Regions from separate parts of the Homo sapiens genome. Here regions 2, 3, 4, 5 and 6 are each linked to region 1. The links are contacts of gene promoters, found by promoter capture Hi-C in blood cells and fetal thymus (Javierre and others, 2016). All regions are on one chromosome and are shown on one strand. Each heading gives the region's core, a stretch centred on a gene start or on the middle of the fragment in contact. The rest is flanking DNA. Distances are from core to core; before and after follow the strand shown.

Region 1 (4,218 bases), core at 455-2,954:
CAGATTAGGTCATTCAACTATTTTTCCATACTCTTTAAACGCAATTATCACTTATGATATGCACACAGTCTCAAGAAAGTCAAGGTACTCCTTAGAGGTTTAAACTATGTAGCACTACATACAATTTTAATAGGCTATTGTAACAAGTACAGAGCTAGAGCAGGAACTTGGGCAGAGGAACACTCTAGTATTCTCAAACTGTGGCTAAAAGTTAGGGCTGTTAACTCCCAGTAAATTATGAACATAACAAATCAGACATTAAATATTGTTGTACATACAGTTAAACGTTGAGTATTAAATACATAACTATACTTAATCTTTCAACGTTGCAAATCAGGTAGGCTTTAGCATGCTACTAAACATGTCAAACCACTTTTCACAAACATCTTTTACGCTAGATTGCACTTTGCAGATCTTAAAATTGCAAAAAAAAAAGACTTGTTTCCAATAACAATCTATGCACAGAATTTTCACTACAAAGGATATCTTCATCTCCTCTACGATAGTCAAATATTTTCCTAAACCTTACACTTAATCTTGAGTATTTCCTCCAGGCCTTATTTTCCTCTATGCAGTGTCTGGAATCTTAAATATAGGTATTGTAGATACCACTTAAGAACTTTCTTTCTACCAAGGTATATACAATATGTACTGGGAGGTTCCTAGCAGAGATAGGGTAGCTATTTTTAAAAGCACGAACGGTAAAGGGGTTGTTTTACACAATTAAGTTAGAATTGGAGATGTTTGAGAGTCATACAGATTAAGTAACGGATCTAGTTTAGTTAAGGTATTTTAAAGGCAAAGCCTTACCTAAAAAGCTTTCGTTATTACTTTTAATCAAGTTAAAAATCACAAAAGAAACTTGCCATATCAAAAGTTTTATATCCTGTCTAAATAAGGCGATGGTTATTAGCAGGGGGTGTGGTAGACAGAAGGGATGAAAGCAAAGACAGACCACAGCGCGAGATGACGGTCTCAATCTGTACAGTACTCGTGTAAGCGCTCTGGATTTAAAGAACCTAGCATATTTGATCTCCGTCCATAATTCTCCAATTAGTCCTGCTGCGAAGACAGCCAGGTAGGATACTAGTCAGTGCCGGCCTCTCCAGGGTAAGTGAGGAAGAGAATGGCCTGGACAAGGAGGACGTCAACGGTATCACGCTGCACAAAGAACTGCTGTCAATTTTCTTGTGTCCTTACGTTGAGCCAGGCTTTTAGCTATTGTAAAAGCTTTATTTGCACATCACTTAATCTACACAATTTTGCAAAGTAGGAAATTAGGGTCTCCATGGAAGCCGGAACATCTGAAAGCGCAGATCGAGTGGCTGAACGGCGAAAAGCGCGGCGAGTGGGACTCCACGGCCCGAGCTTTCGGCCACCGAATTTAGAATGATACTGAAAACCGAAGGGAAGTCAAACAGGGATCACTACGCCCTTGTTTCGCACCTTAAAACCTACTTCTTCCTCTTTCAGGGACTCCAGGAAGGCCGGGGGGAGGTGGGGCTGGCGGAAGTGGACGCGGCGACCCTCCTGCCGCAGGCGCGTCCAGAACGATACCTTGGCCACTACTTCTGCAACAGCTATCTTCCTCCTCCTCACATTTCAAGGCTCTTCGAAGCTCTCCAGCCACGGCTAGCCCCGCGCACTGGGCCCTCCAGGACCGTACCACCGTCCGCCGTCGCCTGGAACTACCGCCGCCACATTCGAAATTTTCCGCCTCGCTCCTCCATTGGTTGGCTGGGAGGCGGTCACGTGGCGCAGGATGCACCCAACACCACCGTCGCAGGCAGAGTCCCGCCCCGCCAGGCGACGTCACGTGACGCACATTCGCTCAAGTCCACATCCGGGCATCCACCTGGCCCTGGGGCGGAGCCTGCGGTCGGGTCTCGGCGACCCGCCGGGACTTTCTAATCAGAGTCGTGGGGATTTTACGGGTGGAGTTACTCCGAAACCTTTAAGGCCGAGTGTGATAGGTAGTTCAAAGCTTCCTGTTTCTTCAGTCTGACAGCTTCAAATGTCCCGGGTTGTGCTCAAAGCCTCCCTCTTGTGAGAAGAATCTCTTTGGTTGCCTGTTAAAGCGGTCAGCCAGCTTGCAACACGGAAGCAGCTTTTAGAGGAATTAAAACCAAAACAAGGAGCAAATTCTGGATTAAAAAGGTATTAGGGAAACTGCAGATACCTGAAAATTCTAGCTCCATGTTTCTCTTTGCCGGCTATCTCTGGCTCTTTAACTCTTCTCGAGAAATGGCACCAACATCCATCCAGTTACCGACTAGAAGCCTGAGAAATCGTCCTTAATGATTATTTATCCTCTCTTAACCTTTGCCCGTCCAGTCGGTCACACGATCTTCTCAACTCTGCTTTCCAAGTTTCTCTCATGCCCATCTTTTTCCCCCCAATCCAGCTTCCAGCCTAATCTCATTCCCTAAATTGCACTAGTACCCACTCTGACCGCAGACTCCACTCCCTATATTCTTCATAGATTAATATTTTTACAAAACAAGTATCAAATAGGAAACTTTACAATGGCTCCCTATTGCATTTAAGGTGAATTTCAAACTCCTTTAAGATATTTTGTCCTTAAAGAGCCCCATGATTCCTGGTTCCATCACTTGTACATTTTCTTTAATTTTCTTAAAATTCTTGCCACTTTTGCCAATGCTGTTCTGTCAAGAACACTCTTTCCCTTGGCCGAACTTACTCCTATGTATACTGAAGTTTCACTGTACAGATGAATTCTTCCAGAAAGACTTATCTACCCCTAAAGCCCCTGAGTGTCTGCTTTACACTTTCTTAGTGCCCTGCATTTTCCCCTTGGTATTCCTTGTGACACTGACTTGTCGTTCATTGCCTGTTTCTTGAAGTTGAATAAGGGCAGGAACTACATCTGCTTTGTTCATAGCTAAATTGTCAGCATCTCGTTGCAATTTGAAGTAAGTAGTAAATATTCACTGGGACAATAAAGGAACAAATAAATGAAAACGAAACAAATGTTTTGAATCTAGGCATTCTTTATGAAGGTGTGTTGTTGTTTTTTAAAGGTAGCTAACACATGCTTGCTCTAGTCTGGGTACCCATCCTGGCTTGAGTGGAAGAGGCTGAAACACCCTTCTCCAGCCAACAACTCCCTCGTTTTCCAAGTTAACCAGACCAACTCCATTAACCCTCAGTTTACTGCCACTGGGCAATGTGGCTTATATGTGTAGAAGCATCAAGAAGGAATGGGCAGAGAGGTTTTTTGTTGTTTGAGGTCAGAAAATTATGAAGTGGAACATGAGAGCAGAGAATAGGGCCAGCTTCATGAGCAGGCAACCGGTGCTTAGAAGGGCTGTACATTTGGTTTAATGCTCTGCTGTTGCCGTCTTGAAATGCTTAGGAGTTTATATTTGAACTTATGTTTTGTAAGTGATGTCTGATGAGACAATGGAGCAATCTTGTGAGCAGATGTGATTCATGCAATGTGTGTGTCTGTCACTGTTTCTTGCCCCATGTCATACAATGTTCAGGATGCGCACTAAATGGCCTCCATGAACCACTTATTTTGTAGTTAGGGACCTAAGTACAAAGTGCTCAGAAGGGCTCACCCTTGCCCTCTTGAAATTATTATTATTTTCTTTGAGACGGAGTTTTGCTGTGTCTCCCAGGTTGGAGTGCAGTGACATCATCTTAGCTCACTGCAACCTCTGCCTCCCAGGTTCAAGCAGTTCTCCTGCCTCAGCCTCCCAGGTAGCTGGGATTACAGGGACCCACCACTACGCCCCCTAATTTTTGTATTTTTTTGTAGAGACAGAGTTTTGCCATGTTGCCTAGGCTGGTCTCAAACTCCTGAGCTCAAGTGATCTGTCTGCCTCAGCCTTCCAAACTGGGATTACAGGCTAAGCCATCATGCCCAACCACGTTACTATATTTTCTAACCACTTACACTAAAAGTGATGGCATGAAAGGAAAAGGAAAGATAAGACATTCCACAATTCCTTTTCTTTTCAGTCTTTCTCTACTTATCGGTAAGCTGAAGGTTTTTGTCTTGGATTTTGAACAAGGAGCATCATATTTTCATTTCACATTGACCCACACAGATTATATAGCTGGCCCTGACCAAAGGCTTTGAGGTTCTGACTTTTTGAGGGGTGTCTTCCCCGTTCCCAATTTAAAAATGGGTCAGACTTCAAATCAGGTGTTTATTATAGAGCCCTAAAGAATAGAAATGGCTGAATTTAG
Region 2 (4,218 bases), core at 779-3,278, 7.5 Mb after region 1:
TATGTTGAAGCTCAAGAAAGGAAACATGCGCCTGTGCAAGGGAATAGAATCAGAAAAATCGATTTTAATTGGGATGTCCTAGAACAGGCCCAGGCCCCAGCGGGTTCCCCAGACACCTGGGATAGGGTCGGAACACATTTAAAAGTTTGCAGTGAACAGAATGCTGGTAGATCAAGTGGTCTGAAACTATGTAAAATATTTTTGAGTTGGCAACTCTTGGAACCTTTCCGTCTTTTCAAAAAAAAAAAAAAAAAAAAAAAAAAAAAAAAAAAAAAAAGCTTGCCCCAACATCGGTATATTCCAAATTCGCGCGTGCTTCCGAAGGCTCATATTCTCGGCCCTTTCAGACGCTCTTAAAATTTTTCTCCTAGAATGTTAAAAACTACTAATTTTTAAATGCACCATTTTGAAAAGTACCAGAGAACAATATTAGGTTATTCTTGTTAAAAATATATATTAAAACTTTAGGCTAAAAGTCCCCTTTGAGTGCCCCTCTCTCAGCACCCACCCCTCCCTTTCCCCAGAAGTAGCCAGTGTTAGCAGTTGGATGTATATCAGAACTTTCTCGCGCACCGAACCCGAGCCAGGTCTGGCTCCAGGGCAGATCTAACCACCTACTCCGACCGAGCTTCCGAGGCCGGCGCTCTAGCCTTCATGCCCACCTCCCGGAGACGCCCCGTGGAGACCCTGGCGCCTAAAACTGCGGGAGCCCATCTACTGCGCTCAGGTGGCCAGCTCTTGAGCCTTCCCTATCCGTGGCTCCTTGCCGGCATGCAGGCATGCACAAGCATACCGCCGAGCAGGAGGATCTAACGAATCCAGCTTGTGGACATGCCCTAATTTCCATTTCCGCCTCCTCCAGGTCTGTTCAGGTGAGGATGATGGGAGGGAAAAGCGGTGTACAGCCGTAACATTGGCACCCTGCAAGAGCCGCCGGGGCACTGACACAGAGGGACACCGCATTGGAGATGCGGTGTCTACGGAGATTTATTGCGCGCGGTGAAACACTCTAAGCACCGCGCGGAACAACTGGGTTCAGCTCCCTCATCCCGGACCTTCCCCAGGACCACACGTCACCCTTTATCCCCGAACCCAGGGGCCCCTCCACGCTGCGCTCACCTGCCCTGTTTCGTAATGATCATCTCAGTTTGGTGGCGGTGGAATTTGAGCCACAGAGGCCGGTTGCACAGGTAGACGTGGGCACGGAAGCCAGAACCTGGAACCCCCAGGCCCCCCAGTCCTCCGCAAGATCCCGCCGCTGCGGCTCCAGGGTACGGCCCGTAGAGCGGAGCCCCCTGGCTGTACTGATAGGTGCCCGGGCCGCCGCCCCCGCCGCTGCTACCGCCCGCGCCACTGCCCGCACCGGCTCCTGGGCCGAACTGCGCCCTCCCGGGTGGGCACACAGCCGCGGGGAAGCCGCCGGGGGGCAGCATGGAGCCGTAGGGGTAGCGCGCCCCGTTAGGAGCCGGGTACACAGGTCCGTGGGGCGCCCCAGCCGCCGCCTGGTACGGGAAGAGTGAGCAGGGCGCAGCCAGCTCCGACCCCTGAGGACCGGGGGACTGGAGGTAGTACCGCTCGGAGCTCAGGCTGTCCATGGAGTAGCGCGCAGTGGCCGCAGCCGCGGCGGCGGCGGCGGCGGCGGCTGCAGCGGCGGAGGGCAGCTCCTCCTCCCCGCAGGGGGAGCCCTTGCGGCCGTCCGGGGGCCCCGGCTTGGCCACTGCCGCAGCGCTGGCAAATGCGTCCCCGGCGTCGGTGTCACTAAGCATGGCCGCGGGGGCCCCTGCGCTGGCGGCTGCGGGCTCCCCGCTCACCGCCTCGCAGGAGAGACTGCCGGAAAACTTCTTGGACGCTTTGTCTAAGTCCAACTTCTGAGGAGAGGGGGCCGCGCTGGGGAGGTGGCCAGCGCTCCCGCCGCTGCCGCCTCGCGCACTCTCCAGCGGGTAGAAGTGCGCGCCAGGCAGGTTCACTGAGCTCACCAAGAGCTGCTCCCCTAACTGCATGCTTTGCAAAGCGCAGACGGCAGCTGGCTGCTTCCTCTCCTCCGGTGGCCTTATTATAAAGGCAGGATGGGGGAGCCAGCGCCCTCTTCCGAGGGGAAGGTAACTTCCCCTTCCTCCCGCGCCGGGGCTACCCACCTGCCGACTCGCGGGCCGCTACTGCGCGTACTGGCGCGCCCTGAATCCAGCGTCCTTTCCGGAAGGAAAGCGCCGTGAGTTGGAAAGCAGGAGGTGGAAACTAACCCAGAAGCCCTCTCCTTTTCCTTCCTCGTACCTCTTGCTCCTCAGGACCCCCACCCTCCTCCCAGGCTCACACGCTGGAAGAAGGTGACTTAGATCTTTGTCCCCATCCACCCACTAGCCCGCGCCTTTCTGCCCTTTTTCAATTGCCAAAGCATCGGTCAAGTTGACCACTTGGAAACTTATGGGCTGTCACTAGCTGCTTTATATATTTGCGGCCAGGGAGGGGCTTCCCGGCCTCACAGCCCGGAGACCCTCCTATTGGCTGGTGGAGGTGACACTAATTCAATTAGGCATTTACTAATTGGATCAAGTCGCCTGTGACTTTCTTTTCCTTTTTTTTTTTTTTTTTTTTTTTTTTTTTTTGAGACTGCGTCCCGCTGTGATAATCAATCCTGGTGTCTGTAATTTCGCCGGAATTTAGGGGGACAAAGTTTGGGGTCTCCATAGCGGTGTCCACCCTTGGCGCATTAGTCATCTCAGCCCTCCGCTGGAGGAATGAGATGGCTGGAGCAGATTTTAGAGGCCAGAGAGAGAAAGACTCTTCAAGCTGATAGCTTGCAGGGAAGCGCCCGTCCCGGAGGCTGGGGAAACTGGGGCAAGTTGGAGACAGGCCCAAGGAAGTCTCTTTCCTCGTCGGAAGCTGTAACTTCAAAGCACACCTTCCTCTTGTCGAAGGCAAACTCCCTGGCCTTCAACGCACAGAACCACTTTTTGTTTGTTCCCATCCTTTTACCCAGTGGGAAAGGTTTGTAGAGAGGAAACTCGCGCTAAGCTTTTGGGATTCCGGGGACGGCCAGAGCACATTGCCATCCTGGAGGACCTAAGCTCTCAGCTTCTAAATCAGAAGCTTGGACAGGGTACTGGGGACAGGACAAGAGTGAAACTAAGCGAGCTAACACCAACTTCATACTCACGCCAACACAACTGCTTTCGGGGAGACAGTCACTTTTATTCCCCACAATTTAAAATCCTTTCTGCTCAGTTTTCCTGATCCCGGATTCCGTCCCTTCACCACCATCTTCAGTTAGGCCTGACACCAAGAAACAAAGCTTCCCTAACAGCCCCACAGTTAGGATTCCCTGCGCCTCTGCTCTGCGGCAAATACAGAAGGTAGAATAATTAGTGAAATAATCAGTTTGATATTGAATTAAACTCCAGCTGCTTGTTTCTTCGCTGCGTTTCCTCAGATAGATTCAAGAGCGGGGCCGTCATATTTTATCGTTTCATTATTACGGAAGCGGGGGGCACGTTTCGTTGCGGATAAGGAGAAGCCTGAATATTCGCTGTTAATAAGCAATTACAGACGCCGCCAGTAATCGCTCCGGGAGCGCATTTTCCGGCTGAGATGTCGGGACTCTGCTTCCCCAACCGAACGCGATCACACGGGAAACTCTTCGCCCACAACAGATGAGATGGCCAAAGGATTGCTGAGTGCGCACACGCAAGTGTAGAACAGTGCGAAGCTTTCCAACCCAGTTTTCCAACCACAGCAGCACCAACATCGGCATGTCTGGGGTCTCCGAGAACGAGGTCCTTAATGCACTTAGACTCTCCAGGGCATTTATCACGGTTTTTTTTTTCTTTTTTGATGTGTGTGTTCGCGCGCTCGCGCGCTCGCGTGTGTGTGGTGGTGAAACCCAGGAGTGCGCGAAGATTTTCAGGGTCAAGGCACAGCCACAGGGGAGGGGGCAAGTTGAGACTAGTGGGCTGGGGCGGTGGCCTTGTAGGTCCTGGGACAGAGTGGCCAGGAGCAGATCGCCAGAAAGCTGGTACTGAGCGCGTTCTGCCCTGCGCTTCCTGCGTTTTGTGTCATCAGTATAGTTAGTGTTTGGCACGGCTGTTTTGATCACTACATTGTCCATGCCTTCCTCCCCTGCTTTAGTGTTATTTTGACCCAAGGAAGTCTAGAACATTGATTGTTCAAGTAGTATAGCTCTGTGAATACCTCATGACTGTCAACGTGAAGATCCCGTGAGGG
Region 3 (4,218 bases), core at 1,719-4,218, 7.3 Mb after region 1:
CGAATGCACTTTACTGCTCAATTGAAAATTTGCAAATAAATTTAAGAACAGACAACATCATACTTGAAATACACAGAGAAAGTACTATAAAACAGTTTATTCAAAGGCTACACAAAGAATTACAGAAGGCCAGGCGCGGTGGCTCACGCCTGTAATCCTAGCACTTTGGGAGGCCGAGGCGGGTGGATTGCCTGAGGTCAGGAGTTCCAGACCAGCCTGGACAACATGGCAAAACCCCGTCTCTACTAAAAATACAAAAAATTAGCTGGGCATAGTGGTGCGTGCCTGTAATTCCTGCTACTCCGGAGGCTGAGGCGGGAGAATCGGTTGAACCTGGGAGGAGGAGGTTGCAGTGAGCCGAGATCGCACCACTGCATTCCAGCCTGGGCGACAGAGCGAGACTCTGTCTCAAAATAATAATAATAATAATTACAGATTATTTAGGATGAGTTTCCAGTATTCCATTACCATCACTGTGAATTATCTTCCAATAACCACTGCTAAATGACTTCACTGTCTGGTGACTGAGTTTTCTTCTATGTTAGAGAACTTATATGAACGTACTGAACTAATGAATGACTACTTTCCATAACCTTAACTATAATCCTAAAAGTTAAAAGGGAAAGCCGGCAGGCAGTTTTAAAGACAACTCTTGAATAAAAACATAGGAGAAGTAATTTTCCTCTTAGTTGTGAAAGACCGGACAATTTTCCCTGCAACCTTCCCGCCTTTGCTGGTTGCATAGTAAAAATTAGAAGTAGGAAAATTTAGAATACTTCCATCTCCTTTGAGTCACGAACTTGGAAAGGAGAAAGAGACAACTGCGGGGACGCATGTGCTCTAAAGAAAGCAGGAAGTCCGCTTCTTGAGCATGGGCCGTTCACCCATCATCACAAATGGGAACACCGGCCTTAAGTCCATCCCCATTCTCTTCTAACCCTGAAATCAAAGCCAGTCTCAGTAGGAAACGCGATCTTGCTAGCTGAGTTAGAGAAGGAGCACCAGACAGCTCAGGACACCCTCCTCCTTCTACTTGGCCTGCGGCAGGAGGATACTCCCCGGGTCCCAGCCAGTGGAGAAGGCGGACCCGGCAGGCAACAGCGAAAGAGCCTTGGCCGGGAAGGAGCGCGGCCAGTCCACGCGGCCGGAGAACTCACCGAACAAAGCGCACCGCGGAGCGGGAGGGGACACTCGGAAAGAGGGGGAAAGATTCAACCAGCTCTTCACCACTGCCTGGGGCTAGAGACAGGTGGAGCCGCCGTCCTCCTTAGAAGGAGAAGAAAGATAGGTTTTCGAGGGCTAATCTGAAACTCCTGCGCCAAGGCAACCGGAACCGGGACCCCGCCTGGGGAGCGCGCTAAGAAACAGGGGAGGCGAGCGCTGAGGGAAGGGATGGATGGTCGGGGTCACAGGCGGCCTCTGCGGGGATGTCGGGGTCCCGCCTGAGCCGCGCAGAGGATGCCCGCGGCGCGCCGCCGGCCGCCCCGACTCGGGCCTCCCGAGCGCAGCCGCTGGCCCCCTCCCACCCGCGCCCCAGGCCGCCACACAAAGGGGATGGCGAGGCGCGCCGGCCGCCGGGAGGTGGAGGGGCGACGGGCCTGGGACGAGGTGGCCGAGCCGCGACGCCCGCCGCGCCCCCCGCCTTTGTCTGCCTCGCCCCGCGCCCTCCCCCTGCGGAGGAGCCCCACCGCCGCGGCGCCCTCACCCTGCTCGTTACCCGGGTGAGTAGCGGTCTCATCTGCTCGCCGGCCCCATCAGCCTCCATGGCCGGCCGGCCAGCCCGTGACGGCCGCTACGGTACTGCCCCGCGCGGTCTGCCTGCTTCTGCCGCTGCCCCTGCCGCCGCCGCCGAGCCCCCGGCGCGCGAGGACAAACGTGGGTGCGTCCGTGCGCGAGGTGTGCGCGCGTGGGGAGAGCCGGGCGCCGGGCGCGGGAGACGCGGGGCGTGCGTGTGCGCGCTGCGACTGCTGGGCTGGCTTTAGTAGGAGAGCGAGGCCGCGGCGTGGAACCTGAAGCTAGAACTGAGCGAACCGGCGGACCGAGCGGGAAGGAGGAGAGCCGCGTAGGAGGAGGGGTTCGGGGGCGGAGCCGCAAACCGTGACGAGCCCGGCGCCGGGGCCAGGCAAGACACGCCCCCCCGCCCCGCCTCCTCGGGTCACGCCCCCTGCCAGTCTGGCACCGCCAGCCTCCTCAGCGCGCCCGCGGGCCGCGCCGCTAGGCCACCGGGAGATGGGGCGGGAGGGAGGCGGGACGGACATTTGTCCCAGCCAATCGGCGGCTGGCGGACTTCCGCTCGCCTCCCCCGTGCCACCTCCTCAGGACGCACCGCCCCTCTTTGTATAAGCTTAATTGACCGAAGCTGAGCGTCTAACTAGTTTTTCAAGTCGGAAGCTCCCCTGACGTTCTCAATGGGGTGGGGGGTCACCACCTCCCTTGGCTCCTAACTACATTCTTTAGAGGCTGCAGGGAAGGAGGACGCCACCTCTGTCAAGGACGCCCAGGATAACCCTCCGAAGCAACTAACGAGTCTTCACGACTCCTGGAAGTTTCTTTTCTGTCAATCCAGTAGGCACGAACCCCAACTCAGGGACCGTGAAAGATGGGGTACACTTGACCAGGTGTCCTCCTGTGCTTGCTCGCCCACTGAGCACCACGACAGCTGCCACTTTTTTTTTTTTTTTTTTTTTTTTTGAGACAGAGTCTTGCACCAGCCCAGGTTGGAGTGCAATGGCATGATCTCGGCTCACTGCAACCTCCGCTGCCTGGGTTCAAGCTATTCTCCTGCCTCAGCCTCCTGAGTAGCTGGGACTACAGACGCGCGCCACCACGCCCGGCAACTTTTTGTATTTTTAGTAGAGACGGGGTTTCACCATGTTGGTTAGGCTGGTCTCGAACTCCTGAGCTAAGGTGATCCACCAGCCTCAGCCTCCCAAAGTGCTGGGATTACAGGCATGAGCCACCACACCCGGCCAGCTGCCACATTATTGAGTCCACCCTGTAGGCCGTCTCTCAAATATCCCTTCTGTAACGGGATGATTGTAATACCTGCCATGCAGGCTCATTGAAGGATTAAGGGGATTTATATTCATAAAAGTGCCTGGCACATAGCATGCTGATAATTTTCATTATTGTTAACAGGTTTCTCTTGAGTGTTTCATAAAGATGAGAAATTTGGCCGGGCGCGGTGGCTTACGCCTGTAATTACAGCAGTTTGGGAGGCCGAGGCGGGCGGATCACCTGAGATCAGGAGTTCGAGACCAGCCTGACCAACATGACGAAACCCCGTGTCTACTAAAAATACAAAAATTAGCCAGGCATGGTGGCAGGCACCTGTAATCCCAGCTACTCAGGAGGCTGAGGCAGGAGAATCGCTTGAACCCAGGAGGCAGAGGTTGCAGTGAGCTGAGATCACGCCACTGCACTCCAGCCTGGGTGACAGAGCTAGACCCTGTCTCAAAAAAATAAAAAATAAAATAAAAAAAGATAAGGAGAGGTTTAGTTGGGAAGAACTGAAGCCATGCAATGGAAGGATATATAAATACATCAGCGGATCCAGAGCTCACATCCTATTCATCTCCAACTGGGTATTAGTAAAGCTTTTTGTCAGCAATAGGTAGCTAGGTATGCTGGATGACTCATTCCTTCTTTGGGCCCTAGTCCCCTTTTGTCCTAAATTTCCCAGAGAGTTACTTCCAGTCCAGCACACATTGTTCACTTACTTGTACAAGAGCAGATGTGCCTCTATTAATAGCTACTATGTAAAGAGGCCTACAATTAGAGACTGTGACATTTGGCAAACATATTTCATTTCTAATCCTCTCAATACTGCAAAATATCTGCCGTCATCTTTTTCTTCGGCAAGGCAACTGAGCTGCAGACGCAGAGACGCAGATCTTTGTGAAGACCCTCACGGGCAAGACCATCACTCTTGACGTCAAGCCAAGTGACACCATTGAGAATGTCAAAGCCAAAATTCAAGACAAGGAGGTATCCCACCTGACCAGCAGCATCTGATACTTGCTGGCAAACAGCTGGAGGATGGCCGAACTCTCTCAGACTGCAACATCTGGAAAGAGTCCACCCTGCACCTGGTGCTGCGCCTGTAAGGTGGCATTATTGAGCCTTCCCTCTGCCAGCTCTCCCAGAAATACAACTGTGACAAGATGATCTGCCGCAAGTGCTATGCTTGCCTGCACCCCCGTGCTGTCAACTGCTGCA
Region 4 (4,218 bases), core at 1,719-4,218, 5.5 Mb before region 1:
GAAGTCATTTCAACAGCACATACCCCTGATATGATGCGATGAAGATGCCACTTCACCTCTGCGGTGTTCCTCCCCAAAACTCATGATCCCATGCAAACTCTGAGAAAAATATCACATACATCCACACTGAGCCATATTCTATAAGATACCTGATCTATATTGTTTAAAACGATTGAGGTCATCAGAAACAAGGGAAGTCTGAGAATTTGTTACTGACCAGAGGAGACTAAGGAGATGTGACAGTTAAATTCAATGTGGTGTCCCGTATGGGACCTTGGTCTGGAGAACAACATTGGGGAAAACTGGTGACATCCAGTAAAGGGTGGAGTTTAATGAACAGCATGTATCAAGATTGGTTTCTTAGTTGTGATGAATGGACGATGAAGAAAAGTAAGACGTTAGCAACACAGGAAACGGTGTGGGGTGCGTGGGAACTCTGCACTATCTTTGCAACTTTTCTGTATGTATAAAGGTGTTTGAAATTTTTGTAAAGTTTATTCAAAGAAAAAAATACATAACATACTTACCAGAGTCCCTGGCACACAGTGGCTGCTATCTGAAGGCTCACAGCTAGTGGACATAAAGCATGTTCTGTCTGGTCTCTTAGGCATACACCTGTCCTTAAAACAGAGGTACATGGTCGCCTCCCTTGCTGTGTGTCCATGGGAAGTATGCAGATAGGGAACTGTTCTGGCTAAAATGGTCTCTTCTGAATCTGGCAGCCACAGGGATCCCATGAAGCCCTAAGTTGGGCCACAGACCTCTTCTGCTCAGTGTCCTCCACGGCTCCCACTTCACACAGAGTAAACGCCAAGTCCCTATAAGTGGCCTGTGAAGCACCAGGAGATGTGGGCGCCCCACTTCCATGTTCTCTGGCCTCCATCCTATCCTGACTCCTTCAGCCATGTGAGCCTGCTGGCCTGGGTGCTGCTGACATCTGGCCATACTCCACCCAGATAGCTCTGCTCCCCAGAGCCCTGCAAGACAAGAAGGTCTTCTCTGTGTGCCTCCCCAAATGTGAGTGCTCTCCTTTTCACTCTTTAGTTCCTGCCTGCGCCCCGCCGTGGTTCCAACCAAAGTTTGTTTCCTCCTTCCTGCTGTGGGGGGTGAGGGTTGCTGCACCCCACTGACTGGCCTCACTGGCAGGAAAGGGCAGCCAGCTCCCCAGCAGCTAGGCCTGGACAGGGCGTGCACACAGAGCAGTTCTGTTCTGTCCCATCTCCACTTCAGGCAGCCCCTCTGGCCCCCCACCACTGTCATTCCTTCATGACCCCTCTGGCAGTCCCTTTCTCAGCCAGTTTATAAACCCCGGCTCTCTGGGACGGGTCTCAGGTCTCCTCTCCCATTAGTACTGAGGGTCTCTGCTGGCCTTTTTCAAGACTGACACGGAGGGCCTGTTCTGGGTTGAACTGCACCCCGCCCTAAAAGAAGATCTGTTGAAGTCCTATCCCTCAGTACCTCAGAATGTGGCCTTATTTGGAAATAGGGTTGTTACAGATGCAATCAGTTAAGATGAGGTCACATTGGAGTACAGTGGGCCCCTAACCTCATATAACCGGTGTCCTTGTAAGAAGACGGCCATGTGAAGACAGGCACAGGGAGAAGGCCACGTGAAGACAGGGCTGGAGGGACACATCTAGAAGCCAAGGAAAGCCAAGGACTGCCACTCACTATCAGGGGCTGGGAGGAGGAAAGGAAGGATTCCCCCTACAGGTTTCAGAGGGAACCTGGCCTTGCGATGCCTTGATTTAGGGCTTCCAGTCTCTGGAACTGTGAGACAATAAATTTCTATTGTTTCAAGCCATCTAGTCTGTGACATTTTGTTATGGTGGCCCTAGGAAACTAACGCAGGGCCAACAAGAAGGGTCGGGGACCTGGGCTGCTTCTAGTTGTGATGTTTCTCTGCTTTCTCTACTTCTTACTGTGGCATTTCTCTGCTTTTCCCTACTTCTTGCTGTGGCTTTTCTCTGCTTTTTCCTACTTCTTGGGTTCAGCTGGGTCACCTTCAAGACTCCCCACCATGACATTGCCAGATCTCTGATTTGAACTCTGTTCCTCATCTTTGGAGCCCCTCACTTGGCTTTAGGAGTTTAGAGAAATGTCCCTCCCGTCCCTCTCTATGAGGCCAACATCTCATAATGTGGACAGCTCCCTCTACCACTTCCCTGCTGCCTCTCTAAATCCAGTGGGGTCGGGTGGATTTGAGCACTATAAAGCATCTTCTCCTGTTCATAGTAAGCCATTGGGTTGAAGCTGGGGGGCAGCACTTGGGCCCCCATTAAGAGTTTGAGGCTGTAGTTTTTAGCAACTCTCATTTTTTTTTTTAGCCATGGCCTCAGGCACCAATTCCCCAGGCTGCAGAAAAAGCCCCATAGGCCATCCTGTTACTCCAGATTTGCAAGCTCGGCTGGGCTCTCCGTGATACCAAATGATGCTTGTCCAGTTCTAGCTTGCATGGTCAGGACTCCTGGCACTCACCTCCTTAGTCATCTCTGCTTGCAATGACCTAAAGACAGGTCCCTCCTGCAGAACTATTCTGGGGTAGCTCCCTAAAATGTCCCCTTTCCCCAACAGAGTTAATCAATGAATGAATGCAAAGCTAACGTAGTCTCAGATCCAGCGAGGGAGGAAGGACAGTGTGGGGATCCCAGAGCTAGGCTGCCTCAACTCAAATCCTGGGACCAAGACTGCCTGTGTGACCATGGACAAGTTATTTACCTTCTCTGGGTCTCAGTTTTCTTCATCTACAAAATGCGAATAATAATAGCATCTGCCCCTGAGGTTGTCGCAGGGATTCAATGAGATAATGCCAATGACGGATGTCATGACTGACGCTAATGAAGCTTAGCTTCTTTGTCATGCAGGGCACGAGTCCAGGTATCTTTATGCCTCATCCTGTGCTGTGCTTAGAAGCTAATTTTCCTAGGTCCAGCCTAATCTTTTTTCACACATTGGACTCAGCTAATTCATTCACTGCTGAGTAATTTGTTAGAGCCAGCGGTGTTGAAGATAGAACAAAGGTTAAGATGCTTCGGGCTGGACACATGGGGGAGAGACACATTTTTAGTTTGAGGAGGCAGAAAACCATTTTCACAAGCTTAACGGAGCCCGGTACTAAATTAAACCTCTTGACTTAATCACTGATTAAAACATTACAATAGCTGCACAGGCTACAGTCGGTGAGTCCAGCCTGTAATCATGTCCTTCTGAGGCTTCATGTTGGAAAATGACGCAGATCATTCAAAATAAGAGCATGGCTTGGTGGCTGTGCTTGGGGGAAATAATTGTCATCTGCTTCAGAAGATTTCCTCTCTCCCCCTTTATTTAAAGCACCTAAAAGACTTCATAGATAATTAAAATCTAGTAAGATATAAGAAGGAAGAAGATAATCAATCTCCCACCCAGTCCCACTCTCTTGGGACTCAACAGGGGTAAGGACAAACCGGAGGTCAAAACACTGCAAAATATGCAGTGTCATAACACAGACTGTTGGTACGCACACGCCTTCTGCTGTGAGAAAACTGGCACTGAGCAGAACTATCCTGCAAGTGATGCAGGCACAGCATTTTCAGTTTGCAAACCATTCTTACACTCTTTATCTCAAACATCCTGTGTGCCCAACTGGGTAAAAGAACCGAGGCTCAGAGGGGAGATGGGAGCTGCCAAACTAACTAAAGGAACGTAGCTGGAACGGAGTGCTAGCGGCCTCGGAGGAAATCCTGTGCTCTTTTCACCAGACTAGGATGTCCCTGCCCTCCCTTTCTTCCAGAACAAACCCAGGTCCATGTATTTAGAGGGTGACTGAGTAAAGAACATACTGGGCTGGGCTTCAACTTTTGTACTTGGTAGAGGAAGGCAATTCCAGATAGACCCAGATGCTTGGAACACATAAACAAAGAGGAGAGAGTTTGAGGAAATGGGGGGATATGTGAAAAATCATTTGTATGACAGGGGAGCATTCTGGTCAATGCAAGATTAAGTTATTTTGTGCTTTTGCAGCCTGCAAAATGAGTGAGCCTGGGAATAAAGGGGACTCACTAGCTTGCTCCTGGTCATTTAAGTGGCTTGGGAGGTGGTTACAATCAGCTGGATGCCACTCTAGGGAGAATTTCTGACAAGGGTGAGGGTGCAAACCTGCATCGCTAAGATGGAGATGACAACCAAGGACCCTGACAGGCATCGTGCAGAGGAAGCTAAATTCTCATGGTCTTCAGGGAC
Region 5 (4,218 bases), core at 1-2,500, 5.5 Mb after region 1:
CCGCGCCCCATCGCGAAGATCCGGAGCGGACGTCCAGCCGAGCCCGCTGAGGAGGCCGCGCCGCCGGCTGCCCTCAAACTCGAGGCGCGGCGTCCGCGTCGCCCGGGCCTAGCGCGGCGGCTGAGGAGAAAGCAGGGAGCGACCGGCGGCGGCCGAGCGGCGGCGTTGCCTTCTCGCCCGCCCGCGGGCGCCGCTGCAGGCCGGGCTGAAGCCCGGGCGTGCGAGCCGCGAGGGCGGCCGGGGAGCCCGAGGCGCTCGGACGTGGCGAGGACGCAGAGGTGCCTTGTCCTTCTCACACTCCGCGAAGGCCAGCCACTCGAGTCGCCAGAGTAGTCGTCCCGGTCGCCGCCGCTGCTTCAAAGGCAGCCTTAGCCTCGCTGCAGCCCCGATTTCCTCACACACACACACCGAGAGGGACAATAAACAGAGCCGCCGCCGCCGCCGCCACGGTCACCTCCCTCTTGTCCGGCATAACACCGCACACACACATTTGCACACCGGGGAGAGAGGGAGGGCGCGGCGGCCGCCCCCGCTGTCAGTCAGCGCCATGCTGTCCAATCCGGGCCTTGTCGCCACAGCCTCTCGGCCAATCCCAAAATTCCAAGCCCCCTGGAGGGGCGGGACCCGAGGGGGGAAACGTCATTGCGGGTAGCAACCGAAAGGAAGACTTGGGGTTTTTGTTTGTGTGTGTGTCTGTGGGTTTTCCATTTGAAGGGAGAGCAGGGGCTGCTTCAAGGGTCAATTGAGGGCGGCAAAGGGAAAGGGTCGAATTGGCCTCGGGTCGATTGTAATCCTCCAAGCGTGCTGTTTACTCTGAGACCTAACCGGGAATCCGAAGCGTTTGCCTGGGGCCTCTAAGGATGAGGATGGGGGCGGGGTGGGGATGGGGGTGGCAGGAAGAAGCCGGGGGCCGTCCCAAAGGGAAATTATTTTAAAAGAGCGGTTGTAAACCGCAGGCAAGACGTTGTAGACCACTGGTGCAAGGAGGCCCCGTGACCCGGCCTCCCCAAGGGCCTAAGTGGACGCTGCTGTCGAAAAAAATCATCTCAGACCTTCTCCATCTCCTTCTTCCGTCTCCTCCCCTCACCCCAAAAGAGCATATGGTCAGTTTCAAGAAAACTACATATGAAAAGCTTAAATGATAAGGGACACACAGAGAATGTTCTAGGGAAAGAATGCAGGGTGGGTTGAGTGTTCTATTTCTACTCTTTGTTGACCTTTCTTCTCTGAACAATGCAGAGATGTCACTGTCACTTTTCTCATCTGTCCAGAACTGTGCCCCCTGCCTCTAAGAGGGCATGCTTAATTTTTAAAACTGTTTTCAGTGGAATTTTCAAATGCACAGTAAGGAATAATTTCATTCACATTAAAGCTTTCTAAGAATGAAAATTACCAATACAGCAACATCACAGTCTTTGGCAGATGGAAGATGGCTTTACTTCTTCCTGTTTTTCAGTGTAATTCCACTCAAGTATTTATTGGGCGCACACTCTGCCACGCTGTGCCAGGCTCTGCGATGGGTTCAAAGTAAAAACAAGGCCCCTGATTTCAAACCATTTATAACCTGGCTTGTGAGACAGACTAAAAGGGAGCCAACGATCACCAAAATGAGTACTTGAAGGCATGAAGTGCCACCAAAGAGTTGTGATGAAAGCTTTTTATAAAGATGAAAACAGTATTACTGTTTTTTGAAGAGGTGTTTTTGTGAACTTCCAACTGTGCATTTCCTCTCAAGGGAAAACAAAAATGTCTCAGGTCACATCTTTAAACTGCATTCTGAGTCTAGAGGTGGAGAACTCTGAAACATGGAAATAATTTAAACATAGTTTTTTTAATTAGCTCTCTGATGGCCATGTAACTTTGCCATACTAGGGACTTCAGAACAGTGAAGCCTTTCTTTACCTTGAACTTGGGGTGCAAACTTTTCTGAACCTGACCAAGTATCCATAGCCTTGTTATTTAACTTCCCTGAGCCTCAGTTTAGTGCTTGTTAAAATGATCTTGTGTTCTTACTGTGAGTTTGCATCTCCAAGTACACATGTATTTTGTTTGAAAAGGGGTAATTTTAAAGGCAATGAGTTTTTTTTATGAAGATGTACTAGGTAGAAGCTAAGCTATAAAATACATAGCTGTCTCCTTTTTTAAACTTAAGTTGTCAAAGCTCTTTATCTTCCGTTTTTGTTGTTGTTTTTAGAGACAGAGTCTTGCTCTGTCACCCAGGCTGGAGTACAGTGGCATGATCTCGGCTCACTGCACCCTCCACCTCCCAGGTTCAAGCAATTCTCCTGCCTCAGCCTCCCAGGTAGCTGGGATTACAGGCACCGGCCACCATGCCTGGCTAATTTTTTTTACTTTTACTAGAGACGGGGTTTTCACCATGTTGGCCACCCTGGTCTCGAACTCCTGACCTCAAGTGAGCCGCCCATCTTGGCCTCCCAAAATGCTGGGATTACAGGCATGAGCCACCGCACCCAGCCTAGGTTCAGATTTTGAAATGAATAAAACAATATATTCAAAACTCAAATAGATTAATAAAAATAATGTTCTTTTCACTTGCCTCATATGTGAGGCATTGAGTCCTTTTGTCTTCTCAGTATGAAAAAGCCTTTTAATAAGTGTTACTAGTTTTAAGAAAATACTGACTTACCCAGAAGAATTGCAAATAAGAATTGCTGAATATACATGAAAATCAACATTTTTAAAGCAGAGATTTGTGATGAGTGGAAGACGGAATCTAGATTAAAAGTATCTCAGCTTCTAAAGAATTGTCCTTTTTAACTGTGCAGCAGACTTAGCATATCTTTATGATAAAATTGATTGTACGCAACTTGAGCATAGCTTTCTCTTCTGGGGTAATGTGAAGTAATTTTCAATTAGGGGTGGATCACCTGAGGTCAGGAGTTCAAGACCAGCCTGACGAACATCATGAAACCCCTTCTCTACTAAAAATACAAAAATTAGCCAGGCGTGGTGACCTGTGCCTATAATTCCAGCTACTGGGGAGGCAGACATAGGAGAATCACTTGAACCTGGGAGGCAGAGGTTGCAGTGAGCCGAGATCGCACCACTGCACTCTAGCCTTAGCGACAGAGCGAGACTCCATCTCAAAAAAAAAAAAAAAAAAGCTTCTATATCAGGTTTGTCTAGTTTTAGATACTACTTTGTATGTATATATTACATATAATGACTTAATTTCTACCCCACAGCAAGCACTGACCAAAAGGAAAAACTAGAAATTAGTCATTTCTATAAACTGTATAAAGGTCTTTATTTAATCAAGATTTCTGAGTAGCTTCCATAGGAGCTTATCCTAACTACTTCAGAATTTCTATTTTTAGATCTTATATTTCCTTATTGTAGCAATGAAAAAAAAATTAAATGCCTACTGTGTTAGGTACTCAGGACCTGGGAATTTAAAAAGGTGATGAAGACGCATTTTCTGCCTTAAGTTCACCCTTGAATTATAGTTTCAAGCTAATCATTTAATTGAAAAGCAATTTTATATTTATTCATTTGCTGTTTAATAAACAATTTACCTCGCTTTGGGAGACCAAGGCAGGCAGATCACCTGAGGTCAGGAGTTCAAGACTAGCCTTGCCAAGATGGCAAAACCGCATCTCTACTAAAAATACAAAAATTAGCTGGGCATGTGCCTGTAATCCCAGCTACTCGGGAGGCTGAGGCAGGAGAATCGCTTGAACCCGGAAGGCGGAGGTTGCAGTGCACCAAGACTGCACCACTGCACTCCAACCCGGGCAACAGAGCAAGACTCCATCTCAAAAATATATATATACATAAAAAATAAACAATTTACCTGATGAGCCACACCTATCATCACACTTTATACACAGTAGGTAATTTAATCAGTAAGTAAATTATCCAAGAAAATAGCAACTCAAAACCATACTTCTAGGTATCTGCCAAAGTTTCAATAGTTTCCATTTAAATGTTGTGTATCATTCCAACACTGAGATTCAGTTGGGAGGAGGAGGACAAATCTTTAACCTCGGGAGCATTTAAAGAAGCTAACATTTGAATTCAAAATTCAATGTCTATAATTTCACCTCTCCCTTCTCATTGCATTAATTTTGTGGATCCTTACGATATACAAGGTTGCTGGACTAAGAAAAATTTTTAATGTCTGGCCTATGGTAGACTCAGTAAGTGATTGCCTAGTTAATGACTATTGTATGTTTAAATGTAATTTAGTTTGTTATA
Region 6 (4,218 bases), core at 1,277-3,776, 5.2 Mb before region 1:
AGGATCACTTGAGGCCAGGAGTTCGAGACCAGCCTGGTCAACACAGCGAGACCCCAACTTTTTTTTTTTTTGAGACAGTTTCGCTCATCGCCCAGGCTGGAGTGCAATGGTGTGATCTCGGCTCACTGCAACCTCTGCCTCCCGAGTTCAAATGATTCTCCTGTCGCAGCCTCATGAAGTAGCTGGAATTAGATGCCCGCCACCCCGCCTAGCTAATTTTTTTGTATTTTTAGTAGAGATGGGGTTTTACCATGTTAGTCAGGCTGGTCTTGAACTCCTGACCTCAGGTGATCCACCCACCTCACCTTCCCAAAATGCTGGGATTACAGGCATGAGCCACCATGCCCGGCCAATGCCATCTATTAAAAAAACAAAGAAAAAGAGTACACAACCACAAAGCACTGGGCCAAATGCATTGTTTCCATGTTTGCAAGGATTTACCATAGAAATATTAGGTTGATGCAAAAATTAAATTTCCAGACTGCGAATTTTAAATCATTGTAACTACGCTAAAACATATTCTATTAATCAAAACAGGAACCATTACAATCAACACATTTTTGCCAATGAGAAATGTTTGTTTATTCCTGTAGCATAAAAATCCGTGCTTCAGGATTTGACGAACTCTTGGAAAGCATTTTCTGCACCATGCTGAAGTGTTTTCCCTGCAAAAAGTTGTCAAGATGCTAGCAGAAGTGGTAGTCAGTTGGCGAAAGGTCAGGTGAATATGGTGGATGAGGCAAAACTTTGTAGCCCAATTCCTTCAACTTTTGAAGCACTGGTTGTGCGACACGCAGTCAGGTGTTGTCGTGGAGAAGAATTGGGCCCTTTCTGTTGACCAATGCAGGCAGCAGGTATTGCAGTTTTCGGTGCATCTTACCAATTTGCTGAGCATACTTCTCAGATGTAATGGTTTCACCAGGATTCAGAAAACTGTAGTGGATCAGATGGGCAGCAGACCACCGAACAGTGACCATGACCTTTTTTTTGGTGCAAGTTTGGCTTTGGGAACTGCTTTGGAGCTGCCTCTTGGTCCAACCACTGAGCTGGTTGTTGTATAAAATTCACTTTTCATTACATGTCACAATCCGATTGAGAAATGGTTTGTTGTTGCGTAGCATAAAAGAAGACTACACTTCAAAACGATAGTTTTGATTTCCGCTCAGCTCATGAGGCACCCACTTATCAAGCTTTTTCACCTTTCCAATTTGCTTCGAATGCTGAACGACCCTAATGACCGTAGAATAGTCAACGCTGAGTTCTTCTGTAATTTTTCATGTAGTTCAATGATTGCTCTCAATTGGTCGTTGTCAACTTCCCATGGCCCATATCACGTTCCTCATCTTCAAGGCTCTCTTCCTTGCAAAACTTCTTAAGCCACCACTGCACTGTATGTTTGTTAGCAGTTCCTGGGCCAAATGTGTTACTGATGTTTTGAGTTGTCTTCGCTGCTTTATGAACCATTTTGAACTCGAATAAGAAAACTGCTCCAAATTTGCTTTTTATCTAACATCATTAGACAAAAAGCATATTCTAAAATAAACAGCAATAAGTCATTAGCAAAAAAATAAAGTGAGAAATGTGCATTAAAATGATCCACATTTATTTAAGAATGTATTCCAATATCAAACAGCAAATTTCAAAAATGCAAAAACGCAATTGCTTTTGCCTCTCAGGTACATCACTTGACCTTTCTAGTTCTCACCCACTTCACCCCTAAAATCGGAAAATCTTTCTGCAAGAAAAAAATTTGACCACATTCCCTTAAGGCCTCTTCCAATTTCAAGAGCTGTGCTTTACCATGACAAAACGAACCTAGCTCTTTTCCCAATTTTGCAACGTCAGAAAAAGGAGGAAGGGGAAATAGCTGTGTTTAAAACATTTTTTACCAAATAGAAATATTATAAGATTATGGAAAAAAAAATACTAAATGTTGGAGTCATCCTGATAAAAACCCAAATGGATACTGTGTGGGAAAAAAAGTTAACCCATCCATTCTGGAGTCAATATTTATTCTTAATAAGCAAGAAAACTGAAGAAAAAAAATCAGTATAAGATCTACAGCCTGTAGCCTAAACACTTCAGGGCATTTAGGATAAATAAGCGCCTGCACCTTCCCAGGCAAGTCAAAACCACGACATAAAACAGAGAAATATGTAAGGAAAACCTACAGCCCAAGAGTTTAAGAGCAAGACAGGCCAATTTCTTCAAATAAATTTAAGCAATGCTGCTAAAAGCTGCTTTACACATCCCTATTACCATGTACTACTTCCAAATTTCGAGGAGGAGGGGCATGGAATTACACAAGATCTGGATCGTATGTTTACTAAGAAACCAAAAATTATAGGTTCTGGGGCGTTTCAACATTTCACCTGAGATGGCCAGAACGGGCGCATCTTTAGACCTTTAAAACCTAAATTAAAAACTATCAGTACCGAGGAAGGGCCGAAGAGCTCAATACCCACCCAATACAACCCCCACTTCCGACCTACAGACGCTCTGCTGAGCGGCTGGGAGAATCCGTCGCGCCAGTCAGGGCCCGGCTTCTTCCAACAACAGACACTTTGCGAGCCTTCCAGAAGCCTTGGCTAAGCGAGAAGGCAGGGTGGAGGCCGCCACTGCGAGGACGGTCCCCACCCAGCTGCGAGGAGCTCGCGGTTCCCCAGAGGGGCGGGCCTGCGTCCGGGTAACCGTGCGCGACGTCCACGAGTTTTTAGGACGACCAGCCCTTCAGCCTCTAGGCCCCGACGCCTGCGCCATTTAAGCCACATATCCGCCCGCCCGGCCGCGGCCAAGGCCGGCGGCAGCTACGTAGCCGCCGCCGCCCGGGGCCCCACAGCCCACGGGCCGGATGGACCGAGCGCCGGCTGCGGCGTTCCGGTGCGCGCGCGCGCCTCAGCCAATCGCGTTCTCGCCCGCCCCCCGCCGCGGCGGCGAGGCTGGCGCTGGGAAGAGGAAGAAGAACATTCGCCCTCCTCCTACCAGCGCGCGGGCGGCGGCGGCGGCGGCACCGGGGTCACGAACTCTGACCTTTCACTGACAAAAACAATAACAAACCCCCCCTTCTCCGCGACCCCGGCGGCGCCCCCGGGCCCGTCCCCGCCACCCCGCTCCCACCTCGGCGTCTCGTCTCTCGCCCGCTGCCCCGCGAGCCCGCGGCCCCCGGGCTCCCGCCATCCGCCGACACCGGGAGCCCGGGCTCCCCGCGCCCTGCCCTCCGCGCCGGGGGCCGCCCGCCGCAGACACGGGACCCGCTTCGAGGCCGCTTTGGCGCCAAATCCTGAGGTAAAATTGAAAGAGGGTCGGGCGGGCTCGGGCCGGCGGCGGAGGGGGCGGGCCTGGCGCGCGGACATGGAGGCGCCGCGGCGGCGGCTGAACCCGACCCTTTTACCTTTGCCACGGGGTGGCGGCGGCGGCGCCCGGCGCTTTGCATAGTGGGCCGGGCCGCTCCCCTCCCCTCCCCGCCCGCGGCCGGGCGAAGCGAGCGGGTTCCCCCTGACCGGCCCGGCCGGCGCAAGGGTGGGGGTGGAGGGGGAATGGCCGCGGCCCCGCCTTATAGTTGGCCCTCCGCCAGCGCCGCCATTTTGTTCTCGACGGAGATGGCTCCGGCTGGGCGGGCTCCCTTCCTCCTTATCCTCCTCCTCCTCCCGCCTGCAGTCCCTTCTTCCTTCTCTGCCGGGATTTTCACCCCTCCGCTTCTAGTCCGCCTTTGGCGGCCGTCGCAGCCCAACCGCCGTTTTTTCTGAAGGGGAGGGTAAAAGAAAAGGAGGAAGGCGGGTGCGAGGCGCGACCTCGTGAGCGACGGATGGGCTGGCTAATTGGCGCCCAGATAGGAGGGCCGGGGCCTGTGGCACCGCCCCCCTAAGCTTTGCTGATTGGCTGAGGCGGAAGAGGGTGGTCCTTATGGGGCGCGGGAGCCCTGGCGGGGCGGGAGTAGAGGCCGGGGCGAAGAGTGGGGCCGGGTCGGCGGGGGCGGGGCCGGGGGCGGGGCGCGAGGGGCGCGGCCGGGTGGAGAGGCCGGCGCCTGGTCTTGGGTCAGCAGGTGGGCTGCTTCCCTCCGCCTGGAACGCGTCTCGAATGAGTACTGAGGAACAATAGTAATAAAGGTGATGAAGCATTTCGAGTCCACGATGCGCTCTCGTGGGAAGAGGTTTTCGGAACCAGGACACTTTTCAGGGCTCCTGCTCGTTATTTCGCAGCGGCCTTGGCGAATCCCCT

The links. The method cuts DNA at HindIII sites, captures the fragments that hold promoters and counts their contacts. A CHiCAGO score of 5 or more calls a contact.
Region 2: the fragment with the promoter of EOMES here is called in contact with the fragment with the promoter of SGO1 in region 1 in 1 of 17 cell types (naive CD4 T cells); the score reaches 5.7 in naive CD4 T cells.
Region 3: a fragment that was not itself captured here is called in contact with the fragment with the promoter of SGO1 in region 1 in 3 of 17 cell types (fetal thymus, non-activated CD4 T cells and total CD4 T cells); the score reaches 12.2 in fetal thymus.
Region 4: a fragment that was not itself captured here is called in contact with the fragment with the promoter of SGO1 in region 1 in 1 of 17 cell types (total CD4 T cells); the score reaches 6.5 in total CD4 T cells.
Region 5: a fragment that was not itself captured here is called in contact with the fragment with the promoter of SGO1 in region 1 in 4 of 17 cell types (non-activated CD4 T cells, naive CD4 T cells, activated CD4 T cells and 1 more); the score reaches 13.9 in non-activated CD4 T cells.
Region 6: a fragment that was not itself captured here is called in contact with the fragment with the promoter of SGO1 in region 1 in 2 of 17 cell types (fetal thymus and naive CD4 T cells); the score reaches 10.4 in fetal thymus.

What each region holds. Positions count from the first base shown.
Region 1 is chr3:20,184,502-20,188,719 of GRCh38, forward strand. SGO1 (shugoshin 1) reads right to left here and starts at 1,705. Exons shown (of 8, transcript NM_001199251.3): 1 at 1,447-1,705. SGO1-AS1 (SGO1 antisense RNA 1) reads left to right here. Exons shown (of 4, transcript NR_132785.1): 4 at 1,474-1,614. RefSeq lists enhancers at 1,423-2,102, 2,123-2,182. The HindIII fragment of the contact is 754 bases long and covers 1,229-1,982 here.
Region 2 is chr3:27,720,295-27,724,512 of GRCh38, forward strand. It overlaps EOMES (eomesodermin), which reads right to left and starts at 2,029. Exons shown (of 6, transcript NM_001278182.2): 1 at 1,120-2,029; 2 at 1-31. The coding sequence starts at 2,000. RefSeq lists a silencer at 1,455-1,664 and an enhancer at 4,210-4,218. The HindIII fragment of the contact is 2,734 bases long and covers 277-3,010 here.
Region 3 is chr3:27,482,362-27,486,579 of GRCh38, forward strand. It overlaps SLC4A7 (solute carrier family 4 member 7), which reads right to left and starts at 2,023. Exons shown (of 26, transcript NM_001321103.2): 1 at 1,706-2,023. The coding sequence starts at 1,765. It also overlaps the pseudogene UBA52P4. RefSeq lists enhancers at 762-821, 982-1,191, 1,222-1,281, 1,297-2,073, 2,552-2,681 and silencers at 1,452-1,521, 1,552-1,911, 1,942-2,421. The HindIII fragment of the contact is 1,252 bases long and covers 2,343-3,594 here.
Region 4 is chr3:14,645,229-14,649,446 of GRCh38, forward strand. It overlaps LOC124909347 (a long non-coding RNA gene), which reads right to left. Exons shown (of 2, transcript XR_007095826.1): 2 at 1-4,218. Among named protein-coding and RNA genes, the nearest start is that of CCDC174, 4.4 kb to the right of the region's middle. The HindIII fragment of the contact is 254 bases long and covers 2,842-3,095 here.
Region 5 is chr3:25,664,422-25,668,639 of GRCh38, forward strand. TOP2B (DNA topoisomerase II beta) reads right to left here and starts at 486. Exons shown (of 36, transcript NM_001330700.2): 1 at 1-486. It overlaps MIR4442 (microRNA 4442), which reads right to left and starts at 518; the gene lies at 452-518. RefSeq lists a silencer at 1-55 and an enhancer at 223-786. The HindIII fragment of the contact is 239 bases long and covers 1,132-1,370 here.
Region 6 is chr3:14,944,622-14,948,839 of GRCh38, forward strand. It overlaps NR2C2 (nuclear receptor subfamily 2 group C member 2), which reads left to right and starts at 2,962. Exons shown (of 14, transcript NM_001291694.2): 1 at 2,962-3,285. It overlaps FGD5-AS1 (FGD5 antisense RNA 1), which reads right to left and starts at 3,820. Exons shown (of 2, transcript NR_046251.1): 1 at 3,392-3,820; 2 at 1-1,533. RefSeq lists enhancers at 2,113-2,802, 3,491-4,178, 3,625-3,824, 4,179-4,218 and silencers at 2,585-3,014, 3,065-3,134, 3,155-3,574, 3,965-4,024. The HindIII fragment of the contact is 2,676 bases long and covers 1,189-3,864 here.